2 separate regions of the Homo sapiens genome follow, and region 1 is linked to region 2. Evidence: promoter capture Hi-C in human tissues and cell types (Jung and others, 2019). All regions are on one chromosome and are shown on one strand. The core of a region is centred on a gene start or on the middle of the fragment in contact, and the rest is flanking DNA. Distances in the headings are between cores, read along the strand shown. Region 1 overlaps RUFY1 (RUN and FYVE domain containing 1). Region 2 holds the start of ZNF879 (zinc finger protein 879).

Evidence for each region. Contacts are between HindIII fragments. The study calls those that stand out against the background at their distance.
Region 1: a contact is called between a fragment that was not itself captured here and the fragment with the promoter of ZNF879 in region 2, in 1 of the 25 tissues and cell types used here (dorsolateral prefrontal cortex).

Annotation. Positions count from the first base shown.
Region 1 is chr5:179,561,095-179,565,267 of GRCh38, forward strand. RUFY1 (RUN and FYVE domain containing 1) reads left to right here. Exons shown (of 18, transcript NM_025158.5): 3 at 1,453-1,570. The region is part of intron 4 of LOC128966623 (a long non-coding RNA gene); the gene reads left to right. Among named protein-coding and RNA genes, the nearest start is that of RUFY1, 13 kb to the left of the region's middle. The HindIII fragment of the contact is 4,656 bases long and covers 1-4,173 here.
Region 2 is chr5:179,020,996-179,025,077 of GRCh38, forward strand. It overlaps ZNF879 (zinc finger protein 879), which reads left to right and starts at 2,809. Exons shown (of 5, transcript NM_001136116.3): 1 at 2,809-2,909; 2 at 3,975-4,042. The coding sequence starts at 4,010. RefSeq lists an enhancer at 2,437-2,938. The HindIII fragment of the contact is 17,237 bases long and covers 1-4,082 here.

The DNA.
Region 1 (4,173 bases), core at 718-3,217, 540 kb after region 2:
CAGCTACTCGAGTGGCTGAGGCAGGAGAATCTCTTGAACCCAGGAGGCGGAGGTTGCAGTGAGCTGAGATTGCACCATTGCACTCCAACCAAGGCTACAGGGTGAGATTCCATCTCAAAAATAAATAAATAAATAAATTAATTAATTAATTAAAACAGATGCAAAGGTTCTGAGTGGGACCAACCTTCCTCAGCTTGAGAAAGACTCCAGGTAACAGGTGTGCTAAGTGTGCTGAGGGAGAGGAGGGGAGGACATGAGGTCAGGGGAGTAGGGAGAGGCTGGACCATATATGTCCTTAAAGGTCAGATGAGGAGTTGCATTTTATTCTTAGTGTCTTTGGAAGATCCTAAAGGGAGAAATGTGTCCTAACTTCAGTTCTTAAAAGAATTTCTAGCTATGTAGAGAACAGATTGTAATGGTGGGGAGGTGACAGTATTAGGAGCAGGAAGACCAATTACAGCAGTACAGATGATGAGGATCTGAAAAAAACAAAAAAAAATAAATCCTTGATTTTGCCATCAAGGAAAAAAAGGGGGAAGAATTTCATAGTAGATGAGCCTATAAGGCAACTGTTTTTTTCTTTCTTTTTTTTTTTTTTTTTTTTTTTTTGAAGAGTCTCGCTCTGTCCCCCAGGCTGGAGTGCAGTGGTGCAATCTCGGCTCACTGCAAGCTCCTCCTCCCAGGTTCACGCCATTCTCCTGCCTCAGCCTCCCGAGTAGCTGGGACTACAGACGCCCACCACCACTCTCGGCTAATTTTTTTTTTATTTTTAGTAGAGACGGAGTTTCACCGTGTTAGCCAGGATGGTCTCGATCTCCTGACCTCGTGATCCACCCGTCTCGGCCTCCCAAAGTGCTGGGATTACAGGTGTGAGCCACTGTGCCCGGCTGAGGCGCCTGTTTTATTCTATGGGCAATACATACTTCCAGAAAGAGCACAGTAAGCATATCAGAGAAACTCTGTTGCCAGAGAAAGAGAGACTAATTTATTACATGGCCTCTCCCAGTCCCCAAGAGTAAATCAAGAAGGATTAAGCAGGCCGGGCGCTGTGGCTCACGCCTGTTATCCCAGCACTTTGGGAGGCCGAGGCGGGCAGATCACAAGGTCAGGAGTTCAAGACCAGCCTGGCCAACATGGTGAAACCCCGTCTCTACTAAAAATACAAAATTAGCCCGGCGTTGTGGGCACCTGTAACCCCAGCTACTCAGGAGGCTGAGGCAGAGAATTGCTTGAACCCGGGAGGCAGAGGTTGTAGTGAGCTGAGATTGCACACTGCACTCTAGCCTGGGCAGTAGAGTAAGACTCCATCTCAAAAAAGATTTTTAAAAAAGGATTAAGCAGTGAAGTTTAGCAGCTTTCACTTCCACTTGGCTTTTGTGGGGAGAGGCTGTGGGTCCCTGAAGAAATTTTGCAACCTGTTCTTATGAATAACACTTTTGTTTTTCCTTTTAGTTAAGAAGAGTTTTATTGGCCAAAATAAATCATTCTTTGGTCCTTTGGAGCTGGTGGAGAAACTTTGTCCAGAAGCATCAGATATAGCGACTAGTGTCAGAAATCTTCCAGAATTAAAGTGAGTGAGAAGTAGTTCTGCCAATTTGATGATTTTAAAAACTCCCTCATATTTACTCATTTCTCAATTCCTTGCTGATGAAGCCCTTTCTAATTGGAAAGAGCTCTGCTGCTCATTATCCACATGATCTCTAGCAAGACTTGACTCTCTCTGAGCCTCAGTTTCCTTTTCTTTAAAATGGGGACAGTGATTCCTGCTTGCCACACAGGCCAAATAGGTTGAAAAGGTGTTGTCAACCAAAGGGCACTCACAGGAGGAAAAGGAACTACTGGTACACTCCTGGAATCACTGCTTCAGACACAGGTGGGCAGTTTTCTGAATAATACATTTTGGGCCAGATTGTAGATTCCAGGCCCAAGGACATTTGTAATTTGTTAGGGTGGGACTAACGAATTATTTGCCATGTCTGGATTTGTCCTTGGGATCGCTATGCTTAGGCTCAAAATCAAAAACAGTCCAGAACACAAATAAGTCATCTTCATGGAATTTGGCATCTAGAAAGGGTCTTAGGGATCCTTGAGCCAATGCAAAAGAACCCTCTGCAGAGTTTCCCAGACGGGACTGGACTGTTGAGCGTTTATTTGACCCTTCTCCTAGGGAGCCTGCCTATTCCATTTTCAGATAATAATAATAATAGCCACTGCCCTCAGGACCTGCTCAATGACAGGCATTGTGCTGAGAACATTCCTTCTCATTTATCTCATTTAATCCTCCACAGCCATCCTCTAGGATAGCTGTTAGTGTCCTCATCTACAAGTGTGGGAACTGAGACTTAGAGTGGTTGAGTAACTTGCCCGAGGTGCCTTGGCAGGTGAGTGATGGAGCAGGAAGAGGACACAGGTCTGTTATGCCTTGAAGCCCTCCAAATCCCATGAAACTCCATTGCTGCCAAGCCCTGTGCATTCTTCTCAAGATTAGATTTAAGCCCTCTATGCAAATTCTGCCTGCCCGGCCTACATCGCTTATATTTAAAGCCTTTTGCACCTGCCAAGCTTTCAAATGTTTATTTCATGACCTTTTTTTTTTTGAGAAGGAGTCTCACTCTTGCCCAGGCTGGAGTGCAGTGGCACAATCTCAGCTCTCTGCAACCTCCGCTTCCTAGGTTCAAGCGATTCTCATGCCTCAGCCTCCTGAGTAGCTGGGATTACAGGCACGTGCCACCACACCCAGTTAATTTTTGTATTTTTTGTAGAGACAGGGTGTTGCCATGTTGGCCAGGCTAGTCTCAAACTCCTGACCACAGGTAATCCACCTGCCTCGGTCTTCCAAAGTGCTGGGATTACAGGCGTGAGCCACCACACCCGGCCTTAATGACCTTTTTCATGAGCCTCTCAAGTCTACTGCCCTGCGTCTTCAGTTGTTCTTTATATGGTACAATTTCTCATACCCTTCCTGTCCAGCTCACTCACTCCCTCAAGAGTAAAGCACCTACACAGACGGCGTCCTGATGTTTTCTTTTTTTTTTTTTTTTTGAGATAGAGTTTCGCTCTTGTTGCCCAGGCTGGAATGCAGTGGCGTGATCTCGGCTCACTGCTACCTCCACCCCCTGGGTTCCAGCGATTCTCCTGCCTCTGCCTCCCAAGTAGCTGGGATTACAGGTGCCTGCCACCAGGCCCAGGTAATTTTTGTATCTTTAGTAGAGATGGGGTTTCACCACATTGGCCAGGCTGGTCTCCAACTCCTGACCTCAGGTGATCCATCTGCCTCAGCCTCCCAAAGTGCTGGGATTATAGGTGTGAACCACTGTGCCTGGCTGTTTTTTTTTTTTTTTTTTTTTAAGACAGTCTCTCTGTCGCCTAGGCTGGAGTGCAGTGGTGGTGCAGTCTCTCAGCTCACTGTAAGCTCCACCTCCCAGGCTCAAGTGATCTTTCCCACCTCAGCCTCCCAAATAGCTGGGACTATAGGCTGAGGCAGGAGAATTGCCTGAACCCAGGAGGTGGAGGTTGCAGTGAGCAGAGATCACGCCACCACTCCTGCCTGGATGACAGAGTGAAGTGAGACTCCATCTCAAAAAAAAAAAGAAAAAAAAATCATCTGCACTTTGACCCAGCAATTCCCCTTACATACATTTTATCCTACACATGTAACACATGAAAATGACACATGTACAGAATGATCTATTGCAGTCGTTATTGGTAACAGGAGATTAGAACCACCCTAGTTTTTTTTAACCCAGCTAAATAAATTATGGTGCTGTCCAATAATGACACACTAAAGCTATAAAAAAAGTAAAGTCCTCTGTGTACTGATATGGAAAGATTTTCAAGATGACAGATACTCAGCGAAATAATCAGGTTGAGAACTGCATGTAAAATATGTTAAATTTTTTTGTAAAAAGAGAGAGAAAAATAATTTATATTTGGTACCTGTTTTCATGTGTAGAAACATGTTTCGGAAATGAACTTAAACAGAGGACACTATATTAGTGTATAGGGGAGGGGGATGGGAAGGTGGAGGACAAGGAGACAAGTATATGCCTTTTAATACTTTCTAGGTTTTCTTTTTTTTTTTTTTTTTTTTTTTTTTTGAGACAGAGTCTCACTCTATCGCCCAGCCCAGGCTGGAGTGCAGTGGCACAATCTCGACTCACTGCAGCCTCTGCC
Region 2 (4,082 bases), core at 1,559-4,058:
CACGATGCCCGGCTAATTTTGTTTTTGTGGTTTTTTTTTTTTTGGAGGGGGGTGGGGAGACATGGAGTTTCACTACGTTGCCCAGACTGGTCTCGCGCTCCCGAGCTCAAGCCATCTGCCCACTTTGGCCTCTGAAAGTGTTGGGACTACAGGTGTGAGCCACTGCGCCCGGCGGGATTCTTCTTTTTTTAAATGAGTTACATTCATTACTAATTCTAGCAGAGATACTCTATGAATTGGAATCTATGTAAATACATTCATCCTCCAAATGCCTTTGCTTCACTCACAATCCAATGCAAGATTGGAAGGTTATAGTATTCTACAGAATCTATAGTACTCTATTTAAATTCCAAATCATTTTCTGTTTGAAATCTGAGGACATTGCTCCACACCATCTTCTAGAACCCGTGTTGCTGAGAAGCCTGATGTCAGCTGCACTTTCTTTGGTTCGTCTAGAGTAGTGGACTTTCTTGGTTACCTAATATCCTCTCGCCTTCCTAATTCTCAACAGAACCTAGATTTTGTTTACATATCCACATCACATCCAGCTCCTGAGGATCAGGGTGGAGAAAAGGAAGAAACGTGTTTGTTTGTTTTTTTCTGAGAGTGTCGCTCTGTCCCCCAGGCTGGAGTGCAGTGGCGCGATCTCAGCTCACTGCAACCTCCGCCTCCCGGGTTCAAGCAACTGCCCTGCCTCAGCCTCCCAAATAGCTGGGATTACAGGCTTGAGCCACCACCCCCGGCCAAAACCTGGTTTTTGCTGACATCATAGAACCACCGATTCTTCTCTAGCCGGAGTCTGCCCCAGTGATTTCTTGCTATTCCTTATTCATTTCAGCCAACTTGAGCAGTTCCATCTTCTGTGACTTGTAGCAAATAACACATGCCAACCTTTTATTCCGTCTTTTCTGGCCACTTTTAGGGGTTCCTATTTATCCTCAGAGTTGTGATATTTCATCGAGGATGTATTTTTTATGGGCCATCCCTACCCTAGCTCATTCATTATGCCAAACTCCCTACATTTTATTTACTCTGAAGACTCAGGGCTTCCTCAGCTTGAATGTGTTTTCTGCTATATCTCTATCACTATTTCTGTATGTAATCAATCTGTTATTATTCCCCCTCCCCATTTTCTCTGCTTTCTTCTGAATCTTTTTATTAGATTTTGGGTATCAGAGCACTTGTCTCCTGCATGTCTTCCAAATGTTTCCTCAATTTCTGGTGTTCTGATGGTATTTTTCTAGAGTTGCATTAGATTTGCTCCTTTGAAAATTATATGTGTTTGGGGTTACTTTGAAGAATATGAAGAGAAAAAGGGAGGTAATCATGGGTACTCAGTCTGGCACCTTTTACTTTGTAAATCTCAATGCTATGTTGTTTTGTCAATAATGGTCTATAACTGTCATATCTTTATTATTATTATTTTAAAATAATAATTAAATATAGAAATAACATATGGTCCAGAAATGGAATTGCCCATGTGTTAATTCTACATTTAATTTTTTTTTGAGGAACTGCCATACCGTTTTCCAGCGCAGCGCTACCATTTTACATTCCCACCATTAAGGCACAAGGATTGTTTTCTGGTTTTCTTTTTTTTCCAAATTTTATAATAGCCAACCTAATGAGTGTGAAATCGCAGTGGATGTTTGATCTGCTTTGATCTGCATTCCCCTAATGATTAGTGATGTGCATTATTATCTTTTAACAATATAAAACATCCATTTTGTTCGATTTAATTATTTTTACATTGCAATAATCTTTGTATTGTTGTAACATCGTGATCCAAGATTTCTTTTTCATATTATCTACCTGATATCTCTTAGTCCCTCTCTGCATTTTCTATCTTCAAGTACCCTTTGTGTTTAGGTTTGTCTCTGTAAACGCTAATGTTTGATATTTTAAAAATCAACACTTTCTGAGCACATAGTATTTGGCGTGTACAGTGCCGGTCACCGAGGATGCAGTTGTGATGATAGCGCTGGGAGTTGGGCTTTATTTTACGTTTTAAAGAAGTCACTTCAAAAGAAGTGAGTGCCATGAAGAGGGAAATACTAGGCTTATGCTTTTGTTTTACTCTGAGTGCCAGTAAATATGTAAAGATTACAAAAATTTATTTATTTATTTATTTATTTATTTGAGACAGAGTCTTGCTCTGTCACCCAGGCTGGAGTGCAATGGCGCGATCTGAGCTCACCGCAACCTTCGCCTCCCAGGTTCAAGCGATTCTCCTGCCTCAGCCTCCCGAATAGCTGGGATTACAGGCATGTGCCACCACGCCCGACTAATTTTTCGTGTTTTCGTAGAGACAGGGTTGCACCATGTTGGCCAAGATGGTCTCGGTCTCCTGACCTTGTGATCCGCCCACCTCGGCCTCCCAAAGTGCTGCGATTACAGGCATAAGCCACCGCGCCCGGCCGAGATTATAAAATTTAGACATAATTCATTTTTAATTAAAATCGCAGAATGGACTGTAATAGTTCTGTCACCACCTGCGAATAATCAGCAGCGGCTAGTCTTCCAGATTTAAAAATTCATACTCACTTTTCCGTCTTACTATTTTTGTCATTCTAATTACGAATACAATGGGTGGTTTAGCGGAGGGAGAGTAGTTGGAGCCCAAGCTGAGGGACTCGGCTTCAGCCTTCTCGAACTCCACAGCCCGACCGCGTTCTCCGCTCTCGGCGCTGTGGTTCTCTCTCGGACACCGTAAGTGGTGGTGCCGCAGCGACGTCTGGGAAATGAAGTCCGGAGGGACAAACGCTGCGGTTCAGCCAGGGAAACCCGTCGGCTCTCCGGCGCGCAGGCGCAGTTGCGCCCGGCAGCGACGGGAAACGTCTCTGAATTAGGTGTTCCGCTCGCCTCTTGTGCGGTGTGGAGCTGCGCGCCCCCCGCCGAGGCGGGCCCAGGTACAGGCTGCCGGTGAGGGCGGGCCCGGGGCGTGCGGCTGCCGCGGCGGGACCAGGACGAGGGCTGGCCTCTGCGCGTGTCTGCCGAGTCCCCGGCTCCGGGCGTCCGAGCCGGGGCGGCCTCGGCAGGTGAACCCGGCCCCGGAGGGGGCGTGGCCTGGGAAGGGCCTGGCGGAGGCCGGGAGGGCGCTTCGACGCCGCTGGACTCCTGGGCCGCAGCCTGGGCCGGACTCCGGGGGAAACGGCTCCAGAACAGAAACTGCAAAATGCCGCCTCGGTTCAGGGTCCGGAGCCCTCCGGGCGGTTTTTCGCTCTTAGTGTTTGTGGGTTTAAGCCTCCCCCTACTCCGTTTCCCGGAGTTTAAACTTTAGATTTACTCGTTTTTGGCAGTCTTGCACGTTTGGCAGTGTTTTCCTACAGCCAGTCCTAGAGTGATTTAACTATTTCTTTTTTTATTTACCGTAACCATGTCCACTTGCTACGTTTCTTCCCATTTCTCTAAATTTTAAATCAATTTCTAGCTAGTGATGCTGTTTTCTTGCGCCCTTGTTTTTTTGGGGCCAGGGAGAATGGGTAACGCTACCTTTAAGCAGCTTTGATAACTGTTTTTGATAAAGGAAGTAAATCTTACAAGAGGAAGAAAAGAGGACTAATTTTTGGTTGGCTGTTCCTAAAAAAGAGCATCAGTTCTTCAACTGCTGTTTTTCGTATTGAACAACATCCAAGTGCAGATGTGTGGAATATTGTGTCATTTCCTATTACTTTATCTGAATGAGCCTTGCCTGATTCTGCCCTTGACCCTGTTAAGGCACGGCAGATGGTCTTCATCCCTTCGCTCCTTTCGTCTTTATCGTAAAGCACTGGCAGAAAGGTAGCAGGCCCGGTGACTCTGAACCTGCTTCCCACACTGGTTTAAGTGGCCGGACTTAGGGCCCCTCTGGCCTGGGCAGTTCCAGGCTCCTTCTCTGCAGGTGCTCAGCTTATGGCTTCTAACCTGGTCTGGCCTAATGAGGGTGGGCATGCAGGCTGGATGAAAAGACCTCACAGCTTTTTTCTCCATTCCAGGTGCCTTCTCCAAGAGAGGCAGCAGGGAGGGAGAAATGGCAAGGAGGTTGCTGCCAGCCCATGTACAGGTGAGTGAAGGCTTCTTTTTGCTTGAACTGCCTTCAGGGT